Regions from separate parts of the Homo sapiens genome. Here region 2 is linked to region 1. Evidence: promoter capture Hi-C in human tissues and cell types (Jung and others, 2019). All regions are on one chromosome and are shown on one strand. Each heading gives the region's core, a stretch centred on a gene start or on the middle of the fragment in contact. The rest is flanking DNA. Distances are from core to core; before and after follow the strand shown. Region 1 holds the start of DPT (dermatopontin). Region 2 overlaps NME7 (NME/NM23 family member 7).

Region 1 (6,633 bases), core at 2,211-4,710:
ATACATACTTTATAAGTGCATTATTTGACAATTATTCATAAATGTTATAATTAGTAACTGTAACTTTGATGAAATGATGGAAGGCATTGCAGAATGGGAATCAGAAGACATGGGGTCATATCCTTCCAGTTCTAGAAATTTGGCCCAAAATGTTCTCTCACCACAGTTTCCCCATCTGTGAGAAACTAATTCCAATAATGCCTCACTAACATATAAAGTTATGAGGAAGATAACATAGTAACCTAGTTGAAAACACATGGTCAACTGTAAATGCATTAATCTTATGTTCTCAATGTCTGCGTATGGAAATCATTCTCTATGCGGCCACCAGAATCTCTCTCAAAGGCATCAGCAGTTTCTGGAATCTCCTGAGACACTGGATGAGTTAGGTTGCTTTCAGCTTTAAGTAACAGAAATCTATATTAAAACTGGACCATAGCATGAAGATATTTATTTTTGCACATTAAAGGGAATCCAGCTGAGGTAGTTCTAGCTGTAGTTGAAAGAAATCTGCGGAGAGTGGAGATCAGGCAGAGGCCCTGGAAATTGTTGGAAAACAAATGTATAATAAAGATGAGTGTTTATGATAATCTGCTTTGTCTCTTAGAGCTCTTTAAGGTTTAAAATAGCTCATATCATGTCCAGAATGCAAGATACAACTCATGAGCATCAGGATGATAAACTGAAAAAATTAAAAAAAAAAAAAAACCCTCTAGCATAGAGGTTCTCAACCCTGGCTTCCGGTGAGAAGCCTATAGGGAAGGTTTCAAAGGACGTCATTGTCAGGACCCTGCTCAGAAGCTTCTGATCTGATTGGTCCAGAAATTGCTTAGACTCTGGAGGTTTCCAAAAGCTTTCCAGGTAATCCTTAAATGCTGATAAGGTGGAGAATGATTGCTTCAGCATATCATGAATCAGAGAGATCCTTCTAAGCTAGGAAGAATTCCGATGCCAGCACTGGGCAGTTACTTACGGATGGAAGTGGTGGGAGAAGATGGTGCTAAAAACAAAACTAAGCCTCACATAGCTGTTCAGCCCAGATCCTCTCCCCCTCGCTTCAGTAACCATGATCATCAAAGAAAACTGCATGCCCAACACACACACAAACACACACACACACACACACACACACGAGTTACTTGTTGCTTTATTCTCATGTATGACTGTCTTTCCCTTTCAAGACTATCTTGGTGTTTGATCTAGACTGAATACCGTCTGGTAAATGTGCCACAGGCTAGGCAGATGGTGGGATTAATAGTGTGATTTTTCTCTGGCTCCACATTCCTTTAGGAAGGTGACTCTTAGCAATTGATGTGAATAAGAATCACCTGGAAAATTTTTTAAAATATAAATACCTGAGCACCCCTTGTGAGGTTATGATTTAGCAGGCCTGGAGAAGAGCCACTGTCTACATTTTAACAAACTTCACAGAGGCTGTAGATAGAATTGGTCTATGATCACAATTCTAAGAAACTTTAAGAACAATACTGATGAGAAATGGGAAATACTATGTGCTTAAGAGATGCCCAAAGGTTTCAAAAAATTTGAAAAGCCAAATCATCAACGGATGCATGGAATGGGTAATGAGCACATGAAAAGATGCTCAAAATCATGGATCATTAGAGAAATGAAAATCACAACCACACTGAAATATCACTACAAACCTATTTGAATAGCTAAAATTTTTTAATGGCAATTTTCTGGTAGTGGTGGGCAATGGTATCACCACTTTGGAAATCAGCTAGGTAGTTTCTTGCTTTCTTTTTTTTGTTTTTTTGAGACGGAGTCTCGCTCTGTAGCCCAGGCTGGAGTGCAGTGGCACAATCTCGGCTCACTGCAAGCTCCGCTTCTCGGGTTCACGCCATTCTCCTGTCTCAGCCTCCCGAGTAGCTGGGACTACAGGCGCCCGCCACTAAGCCTGGCTAATTTTTTGTATTTTTAGTAGAGGCGGGGTTTCACCATGTTAGCCAGGATGGTCTCGATCTCCTGACCTCGTGATCCGCCCGCCTCGGCCTCCTAAAGTGCTGGGATTACAAGCATGAGCCACCACACCCGGCCTCAGTAGTTTCTTTTAAAGTTAAACATACATTACCTTGTGAACCAGCAATCTCACTCCTAGGTATTGACCCAAATGAAATAAAAATTTGTTCACACAAAAACCTATACATAGATGTTTATATCAACTTTATAATTACATTTATGTAATTCATTATATAAAATATAATGAATATAAAATTCATTACATAAAAAGTAATGAATTTTCAAAAACTGGAAACAACCCAAATGTCTTTCAACTAGTAAATGTATAAACAATCTGTGGTACATCCATGCTATGGAATATTACTCAACAATAACAAGAAACAAAATACTAACACATACAATGAGATGTTGAATTTTAAAATGGATGAACCTTAAAAGCATTATGCTAAGTGAAAGATGGACATGAAAGGCTACGTGTGGTATGATTCCATTTACTTGACATTCTGGAAAAGGCAAAACCATAGAGACAGAAAGTAAATCAGTGGTTACCAATGGCTGGGTGTTTGGGAAGATTTGACTGCAAAGGGATATAAGGGGATGTTTTGGATTGATGGAACTGTTCTAAGTCTTGATTAGGGTGCTGGCTATGTTACTGTACATTATGTATTTTAAAAGGTGAATTAATTATATGTAAATTATAACTCAATGAAAAGAAAATTCAATGTGAGGGCAAAAATACTGAAGGATAAATAGGGGGTTTATTTAGATTAAACCCATTACATTTTGAGAGCAGAGCACACTTTCTAGACTTGACTGGGTCCAATTTCAGCAGCATGGTAGAATGCTTAAGTGTAGAAATCATATCCAACTTATCTCCCCATGGGCCCATAGTACTTCCTTATGCAACTTATGAGTTCTCAGAGTAGCCCTGCAAACTGGTATACCCGCGCTTATACTCAAGGGTTAAAAAGTGTTGGATTGACAACTTAAAAAAAAAAACAGGCATTCAGCCTTACAGAAATCCTAGATGGCTCTGTTACTTCAGTCTATGATTTCGGTATTTTGAAATCACTGTCTGGGTATTTGTGTGGCCCGGAAGGCTAGTTTGGAGAACAAATACAGGGGTTTGCTAGTAGCGGGTAGGGTAGGACAGAAAGGGGTGAGGTGCTGAAAGGTGAGGGACAAATATGCTACTAATCAGTGTTTTTCAAGTGAATATTTCTACAGGGTAGAGCAGCAGTTGGCTTTTATAATCTAGATACAAAGTTGTTCTTTCTCCAGGGAGCTTCTTAGACTTACATGCTGCTGGTATATTCCTAGAATTCCACCTTAAAACAAGCTGAATGTCCTTATGGCTGACATCTCAGCATGGAAAAGTTTTGCTTAAGCAATGACACACTGCAGTTGGATCCTTCTCACCCACATCTGGAAGCCACATGTCAGCGGCAGCTATATAAAACGGTCAGACCAGCAATCTTAGAGTGACATTGTTTGCCAAAATCCCAGGCAGCATGGACCTCAGTCTTCTCTGGGTACTTCTGCCCCTAGTCACCATGGCCTGGGGCCAGTATGGCGATTATGGATACCCATACCAGCAGTATCATGACTACAGCGATGATGGGTGGGTGAATTTGAACCGGCAAGGCTTCAGCTACCAGTGTCCCCAGGGGCAGGTGATAGTGGCCGTGAGGAGCATCTTCAGCAAGAAGGAAGGTTCTGACAGACAATGGAACTACGCCTGCATGCCCACGCCACAGAGCCTCGGGGAACCCACGGAGTGCTGGTGGGAGGAGATCAACAGGGCTGGCATGGAATGGTAAGGGCCAGTCCCTGCACTGCACTGGGGCTGGGAACATCTCTGCATATCCCTCCTCCTGGGGGCTGCTAGACTCTCAAGGAATATCAGTAACCAAAGCCTGGGCAAATCCCACCCCAAACCTCACCACTGCATGCTCTGGGTGGAGCAGGGCTGCTGCTGAGCGGACTACATGACAGGACAAAAACCTGGGATGGGGAGTGTCTGTGGGAGACAGACTCCTCTGTGGCTCTGTTCCTTCCAGAAGCTGTTCTACCTACTCTCAGTTTGGGCCAGGGGCTGGTGTAGGTCGGCGAGAAGCTTGCTTACCAGACTACCAAAAGATATGTACAGAAACTGAAAGTAATAAACTTTATAGAAATTAAAACTTTCTGTGCCATCGGAATGGCATTTTTCTTTTTTAGAAATTTATTTTTACCATTTTACAAAAGTACTGGCCCACAGTAGTTTGGGAACAAGAAAAATAAACAATTGATCTCTCAGCACGGAGGGTTTGAGAACTATTGATTTAGAGCAAGTGAATGGAAAAGAGGGGACAAGGACATTTAGGCAAAAGAAAGTGGAATTAAATAGCTGTCTACTGCCTTGATTAAATGTGCTCTCTCAATTATGAGTACTGAGGTCCTTCTCTCTGCCTGAATTTAAAGTGGGTTTTATTGCTGGAAAATAGTTTACTAAAGGGTTTTGGAGAGAGGTGCTGTCTTCCCCTGACTGCATTCTGCCTTAAGCAGTGGCATGGAATTTTTTCGAGCTTGTACTTTTTTGTGGGGTGTGATTGTCTCAGCTGGGTCTCAGCCCAGGTGCTTGGTCAGGAGCTCATCCTAGTAGGCACTGACTGCTAGGCTGATTATTTACAACAGCCTAGATGGAGCCAGCACTCTAGGAGGCTTGGAGGAGAGAACGGAGGAGGCAGTCCAGGGAGGAGGAAGCCCACCTGGAGGGCTGCTGCATGTGCTATCTGTAGAGCAACCCAGATGTGTGGCAACAAGTACTTAGTGTAGTGGGGATTGGAGGGGTCAAGCACAAAATCTGGCCAGGTGTGGTGGCTCACGCCTGTAATCCCAAACACTTTGGGAGGCTGGGGAGGGAGGATCACTTGAGATCAAGAGTTCGAGACCAGCCTAGGGAACACAGCCAGACCCTATCTCTACAGAAAAAAAAAAATTAGCCCGGTGTAGTTGCATGCAGCCTGTGGTCCCAGCTACTCAGGAGGCTAAGGTAGGAGGATCACTTGAGCCCAGGGAGTCGAGGCTGCAGTGAGCCATGCTCGCACCACTGTATTCCCTCCTGGGTGGCAGAGCAAGACTCTGCCTCAAAAAAAAAAAAAAAAGAAAATAGAAAAAAGAAAAAGCATAGAACCCTGGGGGACACAACCAGTAGAGAGGTGATGATGGGAAATCCAAGAGGAAGAAACACCGATGGGTGGGGGAGCCAGGAAAGAGAGCGGGCCTTTAAGTAATGACAACAGCTACCATTTATTGAGTGCTTACCCTGAGCAGGCTCCATGCTAAGTGCTTTATGTGGATCATCTCGTGTAATGCTCAAAACAAGGGTATATCCCATTTATAGGTAGACAAACTGCAGTCTAGAGATCCAGTATTTCCTCGGCTAGAAAGCTGGGGTTTGGATCCACAGAGTCTTTGCTTCAAAGAGTTTGTACTTTGCCACAGTGACGGGCTCCTGAGAGGCTGCTGCCTCCACCCAGAGTGGGCTCCCACCCGACAGCTGACTCTGTCAGCAGAGCCAGTGCCACAGGACCAGATTCAGGGCAGTTCTTCCTCCTGGAGAGGGTGGGGACCTGCAAGACCACAGCAGAAGCCCAGCCCCAGAGGGATGATCCCTACTTGGTTACCAGGACTGTGGAGGGGCTCAGCCGGACTGTAGAAGGGGTGGGGAGAGGACTCACACAGGCAGCAGCAGGTGAGGGTGCCGGGGCTGTGGAGGCTGCTTGGACAGCCTTTGTGGGCCATTCTCATCCACCCCCATGGCCTCTGGTGAGCAGATTTAGTTATTCAAAACCCCTTCTGACAGATGCTGATTCAGAGACCAGGCTCACCTTGATTGTTGTCTCCATGACTCCTCACAGCCAGGCCCACTGCCTAATGTGGAGCATGGCAATGACCTAATTACAACTGTCCCTCCAGTCCTCACCTCTCAGGAGCACTATCGCATGGGTGCGACTCCTTTCTAACAGCCGTTTTTTGTGCCACAGTCAAGCAGCACTCAGCCATGGTTCCCCAAGCCATAGAGGAAGAGCCCTAGGCTCTGAATCAGGAGGCCTGGGTCTGGATCCTGGTTCTAATGACTTGTGGTGTGACCTTGGCCCAGACGCTCAGCCCTCCAGTCTCCCGCCTCATTTGGAAAGTGAGCAGTCAGGCTGCATGATCTCTGAAGGCTCCACAGAGCTGTGGCTCACCCCTGAAAACACTCTTGGCTTTTTCTTGCATTCTGTTGATCTTTGTGTTCATCCCTGCTAGAGAGAGAAGCCAAATGATGTTTAGTTTTAAACTTGCCAACTGTGACTGGTTTGTCATGAACTCCCAAACTATTTGAAGAAAAGCAAAAGAGGAAGAAGGTGAAATAACATGATTTTATTTGGCCCATGGGAGTCAAGGGAAAAGCTGATAGGCGAGATACCTCTTCCACCTCCTCTTACTCGGCATTTTTGGGTGTGCAGTGTCTAGTAATTTTGGTTTCCTTTCCTCCTTCCACCCTCTGTTGCCTCCTTCTCCCCGTCTACTAATCACAGGGTTGAAAACTCACAAACATGCAAAACAACTTCTTTACAATAAGATCCAGCTGCCCCAGGACTGACACGAATTACCCTGGAAGCACTT
Region 2 (6,633 bases), core at 2,193-4,692, 520 kb before region 1:
GTATAAAAAAACTCAACAAACAGATATAAAAGGAACTTTACCTAAAACTAATGAAAGCCATATATGACAGACCCACAGCTAACATCATAATAAATGGGGAAAAGTTGAAAGTATTCCCCTTGAGAACTGGAACAAGACAAGGATGCCACTTTCACCACTTCTATTCAGCATAGTGCTGGAAGTCCTAACCAGAGCAATCAGGCAAGGATAAGAAACAAAGGGCATCCAAATTGAAAAAGAGGACATCAAGCTATTGCTGTTCATGAATAATATGACTGTATACCTAGAAAACCCTAAATACTCCTCCAAAAGACTCCTGGATTTGACAAATGAATTCCGTAGTCTCAGGTCACAAAATCAATATACACAAATCAGTAGCAGTGCTATACACCAACAATGACCATGCTGAGAATCAGATCAAGAACTCAGTCCTTTTCACAACAGCTGGAAAAAAATAAATTACCTAGGAATATATTTAACCAAGGAGGTAAAAGATCTCTACAAGGAGAACTACAAAACACTGCTGATAGAAATCATAGATGACACAAACAAATGGAAACACATCCCATGCTCATGGATTGGAATAATCAATATCATGAAAATGACCATACTACCCAAAGCAATCCACTGATTCAGTGCAATTCCTATCAAAATACCAACATCATTTTTCACAGAATTAGAAAAAACAATTCTAAAATTCATATGAAACCAGAAAAAGAACCTGAATAGCCAAAGCAATCCTATGCAAAAAAACAAACAAACAAGAAAACAGACGTAGAGGCATCACATTATCAGATGTTTGCCACAAGGCTGTAGTTACAAAAATAGTGCTGGTATAAAAGTAGGCACATAGAGCAGTGGAACAGAATAGAGAACCCAGAAATAAAGCCAAATACTTACAACCAACTGATCTTCAACAAAGCATAGAGAAACACAGGCTGAGGAAAGGACACCTTATTTAATAAATAATGCTGGGAAAACTGGATAACCACATGTAGAAGAATGAAACTGGATGCTTATCCCTTACCTTATACAAAAATCATCTCAAGATGGTTCAAAGATGTAAATCTAAGACATGAAACTATAAAAATTATAGAAGATAACCTAGGAAAAACTATTCTGGACATTGGCTTAGGCAAATAATTCGTGAGTAGGACCCCAAAAGCAAATGCAACTAAAATAAAAATAAATAAATAGGACCTAATTAAATAAAAGAAACTTCAGTACATTAAAAGAAATAACTATCAGAATAAATAGACAACCCACAGAGTGGGAGAAAATATCTGCAAACTATACATCTAGCAAAGGACTAATATCTAGAATCTACAATGAACTCAAGTACATCAACAAGAAAAAAAAATCCCATCAAAATGTGGGCAAATAACATGAATAGACATTTCTCAAAAGAGGATATAAGAATGGTAAAGAACATATGAAAAATGCTAAACATCACTGATCATCAGGAATATGCAAATTAAAAATACAATGAGATACTGCCTTACTCCTGCAAAAATAGCCATTATTAAAAAGTCAAAAAATAATAGATGTTGGCATAGATGTGGTGAAAAGGGAACACCTATACACTGCTGGTAGGAATGTAAATTAGTACAAACTGTATAAAAAACAATATGGAGATTTCTTAAAGAACTAAAAGTAGATCTGTCATTTGATTCAGCAATCCCACTACTCAGTATCTACCCAAAGGAAAATAAGTGATTATATTAAAGACACTTGCACGCATATGTTTATTGCAACACAATTCACAGTTGCAAACGTATGGAACCAATCTAAGTGTCCATTAACGAATGAGTGGATAAAGAAAATGTGATATATATACACCATGGAATACTACTCAGCCATAAAAATAATGAAATAATGTGTTTTGCAGTAACTTGGATGGAGCTAGAAGCCATTATTCTAAGTGAAGTACTCAGGAATGGAAAAACCAAAAACCGTATGTTCTCACTTATAAGTGGGAACCAAGATACGGGTATGCAAAGGCATACAGAATTCTATGATGGACTTTGGCGACTCAGAAGAGGGAGGGTTGAGGGGGGTGAGGGATTAAAAAACTACTTATTGGGTACAATGTACACTACTTGGATGATGGGTGCACTAAAATCTCAGACTTCACCACTATATAATTCATCCGTGTGACCAAAACCACTTGTACCCCAAAAACTATTGAAATAAAAAAATTTTAAAAACTGAGATTTTCATATAATGAGAATAGCCCCTGCATAATAACATTCATGAAAATCTCCTAGAAACATGGATTTGGCTTCTAATGGGACATTTGCTTACTCCAACCACATAGAGACTGGCCTCTTAAGATTAGGAAGCAGCTCACTCTATCCATAGCTGGCAGTACCCTGTGCTGTAGAAACTTAATTTTACTTTGTGATTGTGTGGTTAACTTTTCTGTATTAACCTGACTTTGACTTTAGACTTCATATGACCTATTTACCCAATCTTACACAGTTTTCAGTTTCCAGCCTATCTACTCAGTACCGTACTTTATTTTGTTTTTCTTAGACTGTCCTTGTTTTAAAACTGTGATCTTATTTCAACCAAGGTATAGCTGTTCTTAGCTTCCTTTGCATGCTGAGCCTGTCTTTCTTCACAGTGAGGAGGAACCCCTGACTACTCTTTCCTGGAAATCTTCATTCCCATAGGTCTTCTCTGCTGTCCCTATGATGGTATGGAGCCTGTTTTTATTATTTTCTACTCACTTAATTGCATCTTGATGAATTTCAGTACACAAAGTCACCATATTGTAGGTATATCTACAAAGGTGTTGTTATACTGGACCAGATGCAGTGGCTTATGCCTGTAATCCCAGCACTTTGGGAGGCTCAGGTGGGAAGATCACTTCAGGCCAGGAGTTTGATACCAGTCTGGGCAACAGTGAGACCCTGTCTCTACAAATAATTTTTAATAATTAGCTGGGCATGGTGGCACATGCCTGTAGTCCTAGCTGCTTGGGAGGCTGAGGTAGTTGAATCACTTAAGCCCAGGAGTTCAAGTCCAGCTTGAGTAACATAGCAAGGCCCCACCTCTAAAAAAAAATACAAATAAAATAAAGTTCTATTGGTTACTCTTTTTACTACCTTGTAAGGAATGTACAGCTTGTTCTTGTTAGGAAATTGGTAAGGAAAAATGTGAATTTCAGATTTGGGTATGTGGTGTTAGTGGAGGATCAGAAATCTATTGGATGAATTAAATCTGTCTTTTAAAAGCTACTTTCTACTAATGTGGGTTTTATGATCACCTGATGGATTAATTTGAGATCCATTAAGACCTAAGTGCCTTACTGGTTCCCAATTTAACAATTCTGTGGAATCCAAACTCTTATTTATTTTGATTTGTTTTTACTTTTTTGAGACACGGTCTCGCTCTGTCACCCAGGCTGGATTGCAGTTGTGCCATCTCAGCTCACTGCAACCTTGGCCTCCTGAGCCCTAGTGATCCTCCCACCTTAGCCTCCTGAGTATCTGGGACTACAGGCACACACCATCATACCTGGCTAATTTTTTTTTTCATATTTTTTGTAGACATGAAGTTTTACCATGTTGCCCAGGATGGTCTGGAATCCAGACTCTTGTCTGCAATTGATTTAATATAATTCTACAATATTTTTCCTTATTGCAAGGCAGAAAACCATAGACATTTGTAGCTTAAACCAATCTGAGTGCTTCCATTAAAAATTACAGGAAGATTATCAGTGAAGTGGTATTGCCTAGTAACATATTGCTCTCTAGGAGACAGAAAGCTTTTCCACCTGGTTTTTATGCCTAAGGTTATTTGTTATGCATGTTTGCCAAGATTAGTATTAAATTCCTTCTGTTGACTTTAGTAACACTTGTGATTTCTTTTATATGTTAGCATTGAACATTAAACTCTCATAATCTCTAGTTTTTTGATTTGTCTTTACACTAATCATGTTTTAAAGATACACGTCTATTTTTTAGTTAAAATGGCTTTGAATTTTATTTCACTAGATTTAAATTTTAAAGGAAATCATATCCTTCCAATTTGATTTAAATTGGTTATGGTTATTAATATTAAACATGTCTATTTTAGGCACCAGTTTTATTAGTTCGTGTACTCTTGGCTACATCACGATTAAAACTTTTCTTTCAGTTTCTTTCCAAAATAAACTGCAAGATTTCCTTGTTGACATTTTTTCATTTTTAAAAATCGTTTCGTTTTATTTCCCACCACCCCTGTTTATTATATGGATTGTGAAGCAAAGCATACAGGTGATAGTGAATTATCTTGTACAACAGCCTGGTCGCTTCTTTAAATTTCAGTTTTGTAAGTTGTTTTGCTCACCAAAGTGTCCTTTTCATGGGCTCTCATGCTCGTGAGTAGGGTTTTGTTGTCATCTGTATCTTGCTGTTACATCCAGTAAGTTTAACATTCATGGTAACGATATTTTTCAAGTGTTTCTACAGTGTAAGGGGCTCATTGGCTGCAAGATTGCTGTGAGGTATATTATAGATGATAGATACTATGATTTTCTGTTTATTTGTTTTATTTTTGTTGTTGTTGTTCTGAGACAGAATCTTGTTCTGTCACCCAGGCTGGAGGACAGTGGCATAATCTTGGCTCACTGTAAGCTCTGCCTCCTGGGTTCAAGCGATTCTTGTGCCTCAGCCTCCCAGGTAGCTGGGATTACAGGCATGTGGCACTATGTCTGGCTAATTTTTGTATTTTTAGTAGAGATAGGGTTTCTCCATGTTGGCCAGGCTGGGCTTGAACTCAGGACCTCAAGTGATCCACCCACCTTGTCCTCCCAAAGTGCTAGGATTACAGGCATGAGCCACCGCACCCAGGTGGTAGATATTGTGATATCAAGGGAAAATATTGATGCCAGGAAAGACCTTAACATCAGAATAAGTTATTTTCACAAGAAATATTTTTGATATAGATACATGTGGCAAAATAAAACTATTAGATTATTAACTATGAAAACCAATTTTGTTAGAATTTTGAAGAATACTATGCATCTACTTTTTAACAACTTAATTTTTTTTTTTTTTTTTTTTGAGATGGAGTCTCAGTCTGTGGTCCAGGCTGGAGTGCAGTGGTGCAATCTCGGCTCACTGAAAGCTCCGCCTCCCAGGTTCACGCCATCCTCCTTCCTCAGCCTCCCGAGTAGCTGGGACTACTGGCACCCACCACCATGCCCAGCTAATTTTTTGTATTTTGTTTAGTAGAGATGAGGTTTCACCGTGTTAGCCAGGATGGTCTCGATCTCCTGATCTCATCATCCTCCCACCTTTGGCCTCCCAAAGTGCTGGGATTACAGGCGTGAGCCACCGCACCTGGCCAACAACTTAATTTTTAATGATGTTCTCTCTATTAAGCAGTTTTCTAGAACTATTAATAAACAATAAAGTGATCTTTTTTTCCTCCTTTTTCTGCCAAATTGATAAGAATCAGAATGGTAAGAAGGAAAGAAATCTTAAAGTCTGAATAATCAGTAAGTTAAGTGATGATCCTCTGAACAATTCAGAATTTACTACATATACATTCTATAACCATCTCTGTTAAAGATTTTATAGTATATATTCAGAAGATCAAACAGATGTTTCATAGCTGTATATACACATATATACACATATGTATATTTTTGCATATACATAAATTATTTAATTGAGGTACATACATATGCCAACTAAATATTTTGATTATTTATTTTATTATAATATAATCTTAGGCTCTGGGGCAAGCAAAACTGGGTTTGAAATTCAGTTCTATCACTTACTAGTTATTAAGGCATATTGTTTAATCCTTGAATATAGATACTCAACATCTATAAAATGAAGATTATACTAGTACTTTCCTCATAGGCATTATCTTAGTTCATTTGAGCTGCTACAATATAAATACCATAGACTGGATGTCTTAAACAACAAACATGTATTTCCCACAGTTCTCCATAGTGGGAAGTCCAAGATCAGGTCCTGCAGGTTCAGTTTCAGGTCAGGGCCCATGGTTTTCTTCATAGATGACACCTTCTCACTGTGCCTTTACATGGTGAAAGAGGCAAGAGAACTCTCTGGAGCTTCTTTTATAAGGGCACTAATGCCATTCACATGGGCTTTGTTCTTGCTATCTAATCACCTCTTCCCCACAAAGGCCCTACCTTTATCACATTGGGAGTTAGGATCTTAATTTCAGAGGGTCACAAATATTCAGTCCATAGCAGCGTTGTGAGGATTATGTGTAATAATATGTGACTAGCTTACACCATGTATAGATGAGAAAAAACTAGCTGTTTCCCCAAATTTGTGTTATCCTTTCATTGTGTAGACTTCCTTCTGGGAAGTAACTCTTTTTTCTTGGAGACTTTATTTCCTAACTTTACTGAGTTTGTTGAAAAGTTATCTCTCTAATTTGAATTGCTTTTGCACTTTTGTAAAAAATCAGTTGGACATATTTGTGTGGTTCTATTTTGGGATTTTTTTGTTCTGTTCCATTGATCTCTATCACTGACAATACTACACCATCTTTCGGTTATTGCAGTTAATAATGAACCATGAAATTGAGTAGACTGATTACCTCACATTTTTCTTTTTTGAAATTGTTTTAGTTATTCTAGTTCCTTTATCTTACCATATAATT

The links. Contacts are between HindIII fragments. The study calls those that stand out against the background at their distance.
Region 2: a contact is called between a fragment that was not itself captured here and the fragment with the promoter of DPT in region 1, in 1 of the 25 tissues and cell types used here (thymus).

Annotation. Positions count from the first base shown.
Region 1 is chr1:168,726,033-168,732,665 of GRCh38, reverse strand. It overlaps DPT (dermatopontin), which reads left to right and starts at 3,460. Exons shown (of 4, transcript NM_001937.5): 1 at 3,460-3,796. The coding sequence starts at 3,492. The HindIII fragment of the contact is 7,078 bases long and covers 1-6,123 here.
Region 2 is chr1:169,243,054-169,249,686 of GRCh38, reverse strand. The region is part of intron 7 of NME7 (NME/NM23 family member 7); the gene reads left to right. Among named protein-coding and RNA genes, the nearest start is that of NME7, 120 kb to the left of the region's middle. The HindIII fragment of the contact is 7,360 bases long and covers 1-6,633 here.